Linked DNA regions of Homo sapiens: region 2 is linked to region 1. The links are contacts of gene promoters, found by promoter capture Hi-C in blood cells and fetal thymus (Javierre and others, 2016). All regions are on one chromosome and are shown on one strand. The core of a region is centred on a gene start or on the middle of the fragment in contact, and the rest is flanking DNA. Distances in the headings are between cores, read along the strand shown.

Region 1 (7,185 bases), core at 1,319-3,818:
TGCTCCATGGGGTGGCTACCGCCTTCTGCAGATGCCCCAGAATCAGCTGAGGAAGTGGACAGAGCCACATGTTCAGCATTGGAAGCCCGGAGTCCTGGCTCTGGTTATTTCACTAATTAGCTAGGTGACCCTACATAAATGCCCGCCTTTCTCTGAAACTCAGCTTCCTTGTTCGTAAAATACAAGAGTTGAACTATATTTGGGTTCTCAAAGTATGTTCCAAGAGAATTTGCAGTTTACATGAAAAGTGGTCCTCTATACTGAGAAACTGGGTTAAATAAGCCTTAAACAGGTTTCCTTACTGCAGGACTTCTCAGGAACTTAAAAACACTCATCTGTGATGCAATTCTCCAAGAGGGGTGAAGGTGAGTAGCATTTCTCAATCTGTCTTTGCCCAAGGAGACTTTTTTCTCCTCCATGATGAAACATGTGGAATCAGTAGTCATCAGAAGGCACTTGTAGAAATGTTGGATTAGGTGATTTCTAAGGCTGTACCAGCCCAAACACTCCATGATTCTGTGTATCCTGGTGTTCTGGGCCCCTCCTGTATTTCCCACTTGCCTCCTCCTTGGGGATGATTGACTCTGAAGGAAATCCTCACCATCTGTTCTAAGGGGCTTCTCCCAGGAAAAGTCACACTTGAATGCCTATAAAGTCCCTTAAAGATACAGTCTGGCTCATGAAACCCCCCTGAGCAGCTTAAATGGAAAACGCAGTCCCCCACTGCGCTCAGAGCACAGATCCAGGACCAGCCCGAAGGGATTGCAAAACATGCTCTAGCATGCATTTGGGAAAACAAAGAAAACCGTACTGTTTTCTGCTCCAGACAGTCTGAGACGCTTTGTGCCCTTGGGCCCTTGCCCGGTTCTCTCATCTGCCTCAGTCCTGGTACTAAATTGGTTCAAGGTTTGGAGGAAAGCTTCAGAGCAAAGGGATAAAAGGATGTTTAGAGTTCTTAAATACCGAAGTCACCCTGAAGACCGGAGCATAGACCCTCGCCAGCCACCAGGGGGCGATAACAACAGCATCTGTACAGAAAGCCGTTCCCAAGAATAACAGCAGTAAATTGCACCTAATGTGTTTATGAATGATGAAGGGACTCGAGTGTGTGTGTTTGAGTGAGTGTGCGTATGTGTGTGTTTGTGTGTACGCGCGCGCAAGTGGGTGCCCAAAGCTAAGACTTTGAAAATCTGCTAAGTATAATACAATAAAATCTACAACTCTACTATATATTCACAGGATGTGGTCAAGTAGTTGAAAGTTTCCTTGAAGGAAAATGAGGTAGAAGAAATCAGAATAGTATTCTTATGAAAGAAAAGAGAAGCGCTCTCAGGAGTATAGTTGTCACTATGTGAGTGTGTGTGCGAGCATGCATGTACACGTGTGTGTGATTGCCGGTGTATAAATGGGTGTGTGTGAGCCTGAGTATGTGAGAGTGTGTGCGTGGCTGTGAATACGTAGGCACCAGTGTGTGTGTATATATATGCAGGGCTCATTCAGGCCTTCTCAGTGTGAGGGGACCTCAAGGAAATCTGGGCAATACTTCCTCCAGTTCCTGCCCTTTCCTTTCAAACAAACAAACAAAATCATTCCTACAAGTATTTATGGAGCCTCTAACGCACACGCCCCTCCCCACTGGCATCTGGAAAAGCTCAGACCTAGCCAATTTAAAGCGGGCGCTGGAAGAAAGAAGGCGCTGGGGACAGAAGGGATGCCTCGTCTGCGAATGACTTTTGCAAAAACACGTTCTCTTCTGTGATGCTCCAAACAACCCAGGGAGGTGAGGCCAGGTAGGACTGTGGCCCCGGATTTGAGAAAACGAAGGCTCAGAGATGACACGATTGGCCCAGAGTCACCCAGTCAGGAAGCAGAAACCCGAGGATGGAACAAGGCATTGTCAATCCAGGGGTCCAAGTCGCTGCCATCACTACTTTTACCAGTCCACCAAGCGCTGGGTCTGGGCAAAGCAGGGCAAGTTTCCGGGTAAGGTTTGCCAGCAGTGACCTCAACAACATGGACCACGGTGTGTGTGTGTGTGTAGCTGTGGAGTACATTGGTGTCAACCAAGGCTCTTCAGGCAAAATTGTGGATCTCTGCCATGAGTACTAGGTGCGGTAGGGAAGCGGCTTCGTGGGCGACACTGCCATGGTTTGGCGTCCCTAGCAGCTGTGCGACCTCCAGCAAGTCGCTTCACTTCTCTGAGCTGTTTTCAGACGACCCCTTGGAAGATCGTGGACTTAAGTAAAGAATATGAGTAGAGTGCTCAGCTCAGTGCAAAAATTAAAAAAAAAAAAGTGTCAGGAGCCTTATCCGTCCTTGGATCTTAACAGTGAATGAGTTTCAGTGTTTCTTTCCAGGGGCCCTGCTGGCCGAGCCCCTTTCCTTCCCTGGTTCCTTCTCTCTCCCTCCTCTACTGCCTCCTCCCTCCAGGCTCTCGGTCGCTCCAGCAAAGTTCCCAACTTAGTCGACATGACGCGCGGCGCAGCCAATGGGAGGCGGAGTTGGCGTTTCTTGGTCGGGGGGGGGCCGGAGGGGTGGGCCCCGCGTCTCCGGTGTCTGCCGTGCTCACTGAATGGAGAGAGCGAGCGCCGGCCAGCTCACCCGGCCGCCCCGTGCCCCAGCCGCAGCCGCCGCGCTCCCCAGCCCAGCCCCAAGCCGGACCTCCCCGGGCGCCACGCCCCATTGCGCTCGCCCCAGGTCCCCAACCCGGCCCGCGGGCCAGCGGGGCCAGGGGGCGCTCCGCACCTGGGCACTCCCAGCGATGCGCAGCGGGGCAGCGCCGGCCCCGCCGATGGAGCTGCTGTTGCTGCCGCCGCCGCCGCCCGGAGCGCCCCGCTCCGCCCGCGCCCCGTGCGCCTGAGCACCGAGCTCGCCCCTCCTCCGCGCTAACTCCGCCGCCCGCTCCCCAGGCCGCCCGCGCTCCCCGCGCGCCTCCTCGGGCTCCACGCGTCTTGCCCCGCAGAGGCAGCCTCCTCCAGGAGCGGGGCCCTGCACACCATGGCCCCCGGGTGGGCAGGGGTCGGCGCCGCCGTGCGCGCCCGCCTGGCGCTGGCCTTGGCGCTGGCGAGCGTCCTGAGTGGGCCTCCAGCCGTCGCCTGCCCCACCAAGTGTACCTGCTCCGCTGCCAGCGTGGACTGCCACGGGCTGGGCCTCCGCGCGGTTCCTCGGGGCATCCCCCGCAACGCTGAGCGCCTGTGAGTACCCCTGCCCCACCCCACGCGGGCCACCCACCTGGGTCCCACCGAGGGGGCCCCAGGCGCCAGATCCGTCCTTTCCCCTCGGCCTCCCTGGATGCAGTCTCTATTCTCATCCCTTCCTGGATACGATCCCTCACTCTCCGAGCTGGGGGTCTGTAGGCTTGGTCAGATCTGGAAAGAGAGGTCTCGAAACCCCCAGCGATGGGCAAAGAGCAGTGCCTCTCCAGGGGTGAGGGTTCCAGACGCAGGGCCCGCTGACAGCTTCCAAGGAGTAGCTGAGGAGAGGCGAGGGGAGGCAAGAGCACTGCAGCCTCAAGGTCTTAGGGTGAGGGTCAGGGGTCTGCGCTCGTTAAAAAGGGGGGCGGGCGAAGGAGAAAGCTATAGGATGATGGGCCGTCAAGGCGCGGAGGCGGGAGAGAGGGCCCGAGACTGTTGACCTGCTTGGAGATCAGAATGGGCCAGCCGCTCTCTGGCTGCCCTTGCAAGGAAAGTTGAGAGTGTGGGTGAAGGTTTAACTTCTGAGGAACTGGACAGATTCAGAGTGGGTGCTCGCAAAACCCGCTCTGCCTGGAGCGCAGTCTGGGAGATGCCAAGTTGCAGCCCCGGGTGAATTTTTTATGGCTCGGTTATAAATGCCTCCCCGAACGAAGGGGCCGGAGAATGGAAATGCTGACAGCCCTTCAAATGAGACCGAGCGTTATAATCTTACAAACCGCACTCAGCCTCAGATCCTGGGCTTGGCAGCGAATGGAGAGGCGCTTGGAGAATGGGGTGGATTGACCCTAGTTTTAGCCCCAATTGTGCAACCAAATATTTACTTTTCATATGTCAACGTTTTGGAAACATTTATCATTTTGATCCTCGGACCAGATTCAAAACTTGGACTCCGGGGTGGGCTCCTCTTAGTCCGCAGTTGGGGTGGGGTAAGGGAGTGGGGGAGAAACGCTGGAGTGGGTGGGAAGCCTTACTGGGAACCCAGCCGAGAAGTGGGTGAGGGTTTGCTCTAGTGTGGTAGATTCCCTCCGTGTCTTGCTCTCCCTCTTCTCCCCTTCCTCATGTGCCTTAGGGGTAGGCGCCTGGATCTTCCACTCTGCTTTCTTGACTTCAGGCTGGAAGAGAGTAGTGATGACAAGCATTGTCCTAGAGTGTGTTATTCCTGCTAGTCACCTCCTATCACCCCACCTCCTCTTCTCTTCCACTTCTTTGTGCATCTCTGGGTGGAGACTCAGCAGAACTGTCTTCCTTATTCCTGGTGCTCTCTTTTTCCTTTGGCTCAGTACTTTTTTGTTTTTCCACAAGTGCAGTGATTGTTTTGTTGGGTTGAACCACAGAATCCTAAAGGGTGAGAGCCGAATCTTTATTAACACATGTCGAAAACCAGGCTTGGAAGTGTAAAATGACTTGCCCAAGAAAACACAGCAAGTTGACGGCAATAAAGGGGCTAGAATCCAGGTTTTCACACCTTAATTCAGACATTAAGTTAGTCCATAGGAGTGAAAAACTTGTTTTAGTGGTATTTTTAGATACCTATAACTTGTAAACTAAGTTCCCCTCCTCGTCACACCAGTGCTAGCCACATGAGTTAGTGAAATAATAATTATAGCTAATGTTTGATAAATGCTTTTCATGCCTTGATTTGTGTATATGTATTATCTCATTGAATCACTCCAACAGTCCTGTTAGTTACATAGGCAATGCTTATTACTCCCTTTCACAGTTAAGCCATCTTGTCATTTACTCAAGGTCGTGCAGCTAGTGAAGTGTTTGGATCCAAGCCTGACTGGTTCCTAAGCCCACAACCGTTATCACTCTCCTGGTCATCCTTGGAACAAGGGTCAGTTTGGGCCACGATCTATAAACAGACAGTCTTGGGAGGGTTCTGGCTGGGCTTGGATCTTAGAATAGGCTGCTGTTGCTTCTGCTTCTGGTATACCCTGCAAATGTTCAGCTCACTTTGATGTTAGGTCTGCTGCTTGGGGTCTCGCAACTACATCTTCCGCATCTTCAAAATCGTGCTCCATGTTTGGGAAACCAAGAAGAGTAAGTCCCTCTCCTCCTGGTGTGTAGGAAGTTTTCCAGAGCTGCAGGAACCGCACCCATGCCAGCATGCCACCGAGTCATCTTCCTTAGGGGATCTGTGCAGCTCAGGGCAACCCATCAGCTCTAGAACTGGAGAAACAGGACAGAGACTGGAGTCCTGGTCATTCCCAGAGGCCCCCTGCTGCAGTCGTTAATAGGCAGTGGCAGAGCAGGAGCTTCTTTGATGTCTCTGGTCTCTTCTGCCTCAGTTGTGGTCACTGGTGCCACTTTGGCCAGGGTGCATGGGGGTGCCGCGATGGTATCTCATTCTAGTCTCCTTCCTCCCTGGGAATGGGGGACAGTCTGTAGGAGCAAGCTGGGTCAGGTTCACTGCAGGGTTTCAGGGCAACCCACCAACAGTCCTTCACCACCAAAGTCCTGCACCACACTCTCTCTCAGCCAACTCAAATGTAACATTTCAATTCTGAAAACTCTTGGGGGATATTTGGCATTTTTACTCTCTGCCAAGGATTTCTTCAGAGGAATCACTCATTTATTCCTGCCTTCATTCATTCAACAAACATTACTTGAAGCCGGGCGCAGTGGCTCATGCCTGTTATCCCAGCACTTTGGGAGGCTGAGGTGAGAGGATCGCTTGAGCCTAGGAGTTTGAGAACAAACATGACTTGAACCTCTACTGCATTCCAGAAACTGTATATAGAACCATTGCAAATACAGAAGAAAACCAGCACTTCAATGTAAAGAATGTAAGCAAAAGATAGAAGGAAACTTGCTTTGGTGAGCCTTTTGAACTTCCCAGGGTTCATGTTGCCATGGGGCACGTTTTGTCAGCACTGTCATCAGATGCTCAGGACCTTCCTAAAATCCAGTTTTCTGATCTCAAAGGTTTAAATTGTGTTTTAAAACAAAGAAACTGCATTTTCTCCGTTCTCCATTCTTGGTACTCTGCCTCCCAAAAAGGCTTTGATGAAGGGATTTGTGTGTGTGTGTGTCTGTGTATATTGCTTCTCTGGATGTTTTTGACTTCTGAAACCTTGTGTTATGACATTAAGGAAAACCTGAGTGGGGATAATGTGCTCACCATTTGGACTTTGCTTCAGGCCTGGAATGGGGCCTCAATTGTTCATAATTAAGCCAGAATCAGAATTGGGGGGTCTGTGTTCCAAGATCTTCCCTATAATGTCAGAACATCACGCAGAAAAAGAAACTCTGTCTTTTATAAACTACTGACAATTTTTCCCCCTCCATGAGGAGGTGACACCCACAAGAAAGCTAAATAAATGCAGAGAAGAATTCAGTGTAATTTATTATCCGTGCAGCAAAGATAGAGGACGAGAGGAGAGGAAGTGGATGGCGGTGCCTGAAACCAAACATTTACCATGGAGCACAGAGTAAACAGATGTTGCACTTACCCTTCTGACTACAAAAGGAGCCCACAGATGTAATTCTTCTCCAACCACAATCTCAGCCTGGAAAAAGAGGAGGCAGATGAAAATGAACTCTCACACGGGGCCACTTCTCCCCATCTTGCCGTCCTTGTCTAGAGGCAGGCAGAGGCCCACTTCTCACTGCAGTGAGGGGTGGCCTGAACGGTGGAGTGGGGGCAAGAGTGGACATCTTTGGTTTTTCACTTGGCTCTGGAACATGCTGGAGACTGCTGTATTTAAATAAACATTTCCTGTTTGCGAAGGAGAACGGGCGAAAGGCTGAAACGTGAGAATGTGGTAACTTAATTTTCTCCATCACTCCAAATGACGGCTAGCTTTGCCGGTGGTTGGGCCCAATAAAAACTGACACCATGTCATAGGCTTTCCCTCACTTGACCACAGAGGTCCTGAGGTCAAGTGAGAGACTTTCCAAGATGCTCAACAGCCAAGTCCTCTGTCCAGCCCTCAGGGCCAGCTTAGAGGACAGGAACAAGCTAGTGAATCATGGGGTCTCTCTGGGT
Region 2 (7,185 bases), core at 2,802-5,301, 250 kb before region 1:
TGAAAAGTCTACCTTATACTCTCTTGGCCAACCAGCTGTCGTTAGATTGATTAATTGGAAAAGGTGAAATATGTATATCATCTAGTTTCTATTTAAGTTTCCAACATTTCCCTTTTTACTGATAATTAAAACATCATTTGAGTCTGTACTTTGAACTTATTTACACCTGATTCCTGAGACCTCCTATTTTCCACAGTAATAAGTACCTTGATAAAAGCTAAGTTCACTATCCTCCTCCTGCTCGTTGTCATATGACAGCACATTCTCACTGAGGAAAAGAATGTTTTGATGTTGTAAGCATCTCTGAATTTTCATAGCTCTGCCTTGCAGTTTCCATATGTTCTAAAAATGCATGGAAATTTCCATAGGAGACACTAAACCTGCCCATCACTTTGGTGTAATGGGCAAGTAGACTTTGTGGAAACTGTTTCCTTACAGAATTCATAGTTTGAAAAATATATCTCACTTCCCTGTGGGATTTGATTAAGTGGAAGGAAGGTACAACACATCTCTTACCACTATTGACATCATAAGGTAAATTAATTATATTCATGAGTCACTCTTAGTACAATCTAGCCAAATCACAGAGATGTCTGAATAGTTCTAACTATAGCCACCATGAGGTTTCATTTGAAGTCACTGCTGCATATTTACAAATAAATACATTTTTGCTGGGTTACCTCTGGAAAATATTATTAAATGGGGAAGGAGCTTGTCTGAGATGAATTCCTTTGAGCAGGAGAACATATTGAAACTACTGTGAATTCTGAATTGGTAGTATTTTTTAGGCTAAGGTCCATCTAAACAGAGATTCCTAGTTCATTTAAGTGTGAGATGTTATGATGAAGTTATTGGTTTCTTCGACTATTCTATTGAAAGAAAGGGGAGAATTTAAAACATATATGGAATTGCTTTATTTTTTGAGACTGTGTCTATACTAGAATGAGATTGACTTCATGAGCTCCATATAAAAATCACCTTCAGCTTCCTGCTATTGAATGCAGCACCATCCTGAACTTGAGACAGCACCATCCTGAACTTGAGACAGCACCATCCTGAACTTGAGACACGGCAACTTATTGCTGCCGTGACATTTTGCTGATCCCAGGCTCCCTTGCTCCAGCTGCTGACTAGGAATCCTCCTGGAGTAGCCTGATCCTGTGGGACCATGAGTGAAGAGCCCACCTAACGCTAAGGATCGTCTCTGCCTGGAATGCTAGACAGACAGACTCTACGACCAGACTGGGAACCTTTAGATATTAGTTCAAGCTTGGATCTAGGCTGACTTTCCCACATTCTTTTAGGCTTCCAATATTGGTAGCCTAAAGTAATGAGCCTCTAGTCTTGGAAGCCAGGTCTAGAGTCAGTTAATTCTCTGAGTCCTGGTCCTATCTATCCCCACTTTCCTTTTCTATCTACCAGCCTATGACATTGGCAGACATCACTGGAATTATAACAGACATGTGCTCAGAAAAGGAAAAAAGACAAATGAACTTGAATATGAGATCTCAAACAACTAGATAGGCAAATCTATTTTAATAATCTCCCAAAGTAAATCTAATGAACTATTGTCTAAGTATCATCTTCTGTTAAGAGTTTTATATATTGTCCTCCTTTTTATTTGAAAGGATAATGGAGAGCTGGTTAGATTTCCAGATGTATTACAATGAGTGGTTAAGTTATAAGCCACTGGATGTCACTCTTAGGCTATGCAAGTGTAGCTAGCTGCAGTGGAGATTTTCCAGAGTAAACTGAAGGTAGAGAGTTACAGGAGATAGCCGGGGATAGAAACCAATTGAACTGTTTGGATAGGTACATTTGAAATGTCAGTGAATTACAGCAAAGTTTACCCTTAGGTTCCTATATATTTTCTCTAGACTCATTTCTCAATGGCAGTTAAACAGGACTAATAATCAGAGAAAAATCCCCTTAGCACCAAAAAGCCAAAAAGGCATTCATTTATCCATTCAATACCTCCATTAATCACATGCTATAAGCAGGGTATTGGGCTAATGAACTATGGGATTACAAGAAAAAGTGAATTCATAGCATGCATACATTTAACTTACTGGAATTCAACTATGGCAAAAAAATGAAAGAAAAATAATATAAATATTGTAGGAAATTCTGCCTGTTATTTCACTCAATGAATTTGTGCCTCGGAGTAATTGTACCTACTGTCTGTCTCTCAGCCTTAAGCCCAGGCTTTTATACTCTGCTCTGTGACACTGGAGGCAGGAATCTGCAGACTGCATTTCCCAGACTTTTTTGCTATCTAGCTTCTGGTTAGGTTCTGCCGACTGGAGGCACTGGCAGGAAATCAGAGGGTGATAGGAGGGTAGAAGGATGCTCTTTCTGTTTTCAGTTCTGGTCGAAGTCCTTCCATCAGTAGCACTCAAGTAGGACTCCAGCTTATTTTAGCATTTCCAGCATTAGTTCCACAGTGGCTCCTTCAGAGGTACCAGTAGGAACTGCCACGTTCCCTCTTAGCACTCACCACTGGAGTCCAAGTAGCAATCACGTGACATCTCCTCAGAGGTTGCTGAGCCAGCTGTGCAGTGACACATTGGTGGTTGGAAAATCTGCTCTGTGGAGACCCTTCCCCCAAGAAATGGTGTCCTGGTAACACTATTTACTCTTTTTTAATCTTCCAGCCCTAAGAATCCTAGCTGCTTTCTATACTACAAATACCAGAGGTACCTGAACACCATTTTTTGTTTGTTTTTTTTTCTTTTTCTCTTTCAGCCCTCCAGACTCTGTATAACTGATCTCCTATATTAAATCACCTCTGTTTGAAACACTTGGCATGATTTCTGTTTCTGTTTTCCTGATGGGATCCTGACTGCAGTAAGAATGAGATGAGAGGCCAGGAACACGCCTGTAACCTCAGCACTTTGGGAGGCTGAGGCAGGTGGATCAGTTGAGGTCAGGAGTTTGAGACGAGCCTGGCCAACATGGTGAAACCCTATCTCTACTAAAAATACAAAAATTAGCCAGGTGTGGTGGCATGCACCTGTAGTCCCAGCTACTAGGGAGACAGGCAGGAGAATTGCTGGAACCCAGAAGGCGGAAGTTGCAGTGAGCCAAGATCGCGCCACTGCACTGTATCCAGCCTGGGCAACAGAGTGAGACTCCATCTCAAAAGAAAAAGAAAAAAAAAAAAGCATGAGATGAGAGACAGCAATGTTCTCTTTTCTTATCCAGTATCACACTTTGTGTACCTTTCATGGTTGAGACATCTCGTAACACTCATGTTTATATTTATATTTTCAAACAATATAAGCCTACTCACCAGCCAACTGGTTGTCAACCAAAACCAGTAGAATGTAAAGCTTCATAAAAATAAAGGATTTAATGATACACTGGCCTGTTCCAGCACTGAGAGAAAACTGGCCATGTTGGACTTAATGACCCATGGTTGTCAAATTGCCCCTTTCTAAGAAATTTCCAAGGATGATTTGGCCAGATAAGACTTTTGCCTTATATTGCTTTATAAACTGAAACTTTAATAACGATGTTTCCATAGCATACTCTTGCAAAGATGAGCAAGACCAGAGTTATTTCCTTCAAAAGCTCTCCAACTAGTAGAAGACATAAGGCATGTGCAAACAGAAAATGCATGGCAACATTTGATGGGAGCAAAACACACAAGGACCAACCCATTTGTCACCAGTTAGTAGTGAGAGTTTACGAAATAGGTTGGAAGAGGAGGAAAACATGATGCACTGGTTCTGCTACAGACTTCATTCACTGGCTTGCTCAGAGCAAGAAATGATCATTATTTCAATTTTAAAGACCTATTTGGAAGAAGATGCTTGCCTGATCATGAACCGTTGCTTAATATATAACTTGTCTTCTCCAGGTATATGTCAATGCCATTTTATTTTATTTTTCTCAATGGCCATGGAGAATACAGGTTTACTTCTTCAAGGACTCTCAATAATACACTCTTTAAAGGTTTAATACATTCGTGTTAATTTTTTGTTTTGTGCTGGGTTTCTTTTTCAGTGTGTTTATTTCCTTTCCTCTTCCTAGAAAACGTGATTATATTCCTTAGTTCCAAGTTCTATCAGCCCTAATTCTTCATGTCTCGCTTCTGGAGTTGATGAAATAATCACTCTCTTTTTAGCATAGAACACCAGCATAAGAAAGGCAAGAAAAGGGACCTTCCAGCTATAGTGCTGGGACCATCAGTCCATGGGAGCTTTTGAATCTCAGTATGTTTCATCTTACCAGGTCATCCACCTCTGAAGGTGGTGACTCACTAGGGTGAGAGATGACTTACTGATGAGGCTGTCTTCACAAGTTCTCATTTGAAGTGGCTTTTGAAGAATAAGGAGTAGATGTGGGAGGGGATTAGCAGTCAACTCTTTTCTTCCATTATTAAATATTTTGGAATTCAGCACTTTTTAAAATATATATTTGCCTAAAATTCTTAAGGATTCATTTAAAAGAGAGGAGCAAGAAGAAAAGAAAGAAGTTTGAAGCTGAAGAGAAAATACTTGTTGCCCTTTTTCCTCATGGTTTGAGCTTATTTGAACAGTTTTTGTCCTGCCATGTGACTTAGCTTAAGGAATTTTTTGCTGGTTTAGGACAGTAATGGGGATGTAGAACAAATTTTCCCTGAAAATGCCCCTCCTATTTCTTTGAACTATATCAAAGTACACTCCATCCATAATTCTATGCATTTATTTCCTCTTTTCATGGCAACTCGTTCCAGATGAATGTGACAACCTGATAGGTACCAATACAATGGAAGTAATAAGCTTATTTAAAACGGATTTTACTTTTCCCTAAAACAAAATATCTATGTAACTATAGCTTGCTAAGTAGAATGCAAAGCTTTTTTTTTTTTTGTAAAATGAAGGATCTAATGAGATACTGATATGTTTTGAATATTGGTCCATGAGATTGCTGGAAGAACTTGGCTGCCTTACAACATTACGTTATAGACAAACTTCAGCATGGAGTAATATAATTCATATACACCTTAATGGGAACCTCCTGGCTCTGACTCACAGCAAGAAATAAAGCCAAATACTCCAATCTGTGGTGCTTATTCAAGTTTCTGCATTTAAATCTGGAGTCATATTTAGTTTGTATTTATTTTCTGAAGTGAATGATATTGTGGTGGCCAGGATTCCAGGTATGATTAGGGGATGCCTCACCTTACAAAAAAGGTCAATATTAGATTTTCAGAAGGTAAGCGAGAAGAGAGACTTCATTTTCAGACAGAAAAGACATGGGCAAGAGCCCATAGACAGCAATCCAATGGGGGAGTTTAGCTTTATTTGAAAGTCATCTAAGCAGGGTGTGTGAAGGAGGCAAATGTGAGGTTATAAAAAAAAAAAGCAAAAAATAATTAAGAAGGCTAAATCTTAGCTTGCAGCACCTAGAATATAACTATCTAAAAGAATTGCAGATTTGCCATCAATTAAATAAAAATGTCAAGTCAGCTGTTGTTATCATTTGGGTTAGACAATTGGTTGATTAGTCATTTTGCTATCTTATAAAATGAAACTGGGAGAAAAAGTTTAATGTTAGTCATATCTATGTAATATGGTTAAATTGCTTTAGGACAATGAAATTAATATGCTTTACTATCCCCACAACTGATTGTGTTAAGGGTCGTTTGATCCACAGTGATGCAGCAAAATTCTGTTTTTGAGACAGGCCTCCATGGCTGGTTCAACTGTAGTCATTTTAGTTGTGAAAACACAGTTTCAGTCTCCATGACCTAACTAATACACATGGTTGAGGCAATTGTCCGAGTACTCTAATTCAGAGAAAACATTGGCTTTTCTGGAAATTACCTGGGTCATCTGACATGTGTTTTGCTTAAACTAGTTCAATAATTTTTCCAATTCTCTACTTTGGCCAGAAAGATACAATCTACAATGCCTGGACACAAAATATAAACTATATATGGGGAATTTTCTTAACTATAGGGCTTTAAATAGTTTTTTTTTTTTTTCTGAGCTGACAGGTGCAGTCTCACCTGAAAGTAGAAAAAAAATAGTTGATGTAGTTCTATGTTGCATTGAGGGTGCAGTGGGATGAAACAACAGAGATGTGTAGCTCCTCTGAATCAGGAACCAGAATGCCAGAACAGTAGCTTCGCAGTGAGACTTACAGATACGAGATCTTCCATACCAATGGTTTTCAAACGTTTCACTAACCATTCTATTCAATAATCAGGATTTCACTAATGTAGAAAAAAATCTATTTTCTAAACAGGGACATGTATATGATTAGAGTAGGAATTGCAAACTTAAATGCCGAGACAAGACGGCTAAATTAAATGACTAGGTGTAAGGTAATATGGAGTGGTGGAGACTATGGCAAACAGGAGAATTCATGTCCCATATAAAGGTGACAGCCATTACTCAGCTTCAGCCCAATTGATACCATGTGCAGATATGTCCCAGCCCTGCCAAATAATCCATTTTTTAACATGTCAGAAATCTAGATCTTTATATGAAATTTCCCAATGTTTAAATGCTGGCAGTCTCTTGGAGCTTGAGGCAGCCAATTAATAACAACATCCTCCTTCTCCTCTTTGTTCATTATGAATTAAGAAATGACACAGGAGTAAGACAGATGGAGATCAAGATGTCAGCATTATTACTGATAAAACTGATTGGAGAACAATGCTGCAATCTCTAGCCAAAATATATTTTCTAATTACCGCTCTCAGAAGAAATCTTTGGTATGCAGAACAGCCTTGTCAGGGGAGAAAGGGTAAAAAAAGAGAAATCATCGTGCTCTCAGATTGTTAATAACTTTACCCAATAAAGAAAGGACTAATGAATGTTGGAAATAACCTCCTACCCATCAGGGAGAGAGTTCAGAGAGCTCCTAGAGTAGAAATTCCCCCTACTTCAAACCACCACACTACTACATACACGAGAATAACGCAAAGATTTTGCAGGTTTGGTTACAGACCACTCCAATAAAACAAATATCATAATACAGCATATCACGTGAATTTTTTGATTTCCCAATGCTAATAAAAGTTATGCTTACACTATAATGTAGTCTATTAAGTATGCAATAGCATTATGTCCAAAAAGACAATGTACTTCATTAAAAAATACTTTATTGCTAAAAAATGCTAACGATCATCCAAGCCTTTACTGAGTCATAATCTTTTTCTGCTGGTGGAGGGTCTGGCCTGGATGTTGG

The links. The method cuts DNA at HindIII sites, captures the fragments that hold promoters and counts their contacts. A CHiCAGO score of 5 or more calls a contact.
Region 2: a fragment that was not itself captured here is called in contact with the fragment with the promoter of SLIT3 in region 1 in 3 of 17 cell types (M0 macrophages, M1 macrophages and M2 macrophages); the score reaches 7.1 in M0 macrophages.

What each region holds. Positions count from the first base shown.
Region 1 is chr5:169,296,522-169,303,706 of GRCh38, reverse strand. It overlaps SLIT3 (slit guidance ligand 3), which reads left to right and starts at 2,568. Exons shown (of 36, transcript NM_003062.4): 1 at 2,568-3,194. The coding sequence starts at 2,998. The HindIII fragment of the contact is 7,800 bases long and covers 922-7,185 here.
Region 2 is chr5:169,543,024-169,550,208 of GRCh38, reverse strand. All of the region lies in intron 2 of LOC105377714 (a long non-coding RNA gene), which reads left to right. All of the region lies in intron 3 of LOC105377715 (a long non-coding RNA gene), which reads right to left. Among named protein-coding and RNA genes, the nearest start is that of SPDL1, 37 kb to the left of the region's middle. The HindIII fragment of the contact is 1,434 bases long and covers 3,335-4,768 here.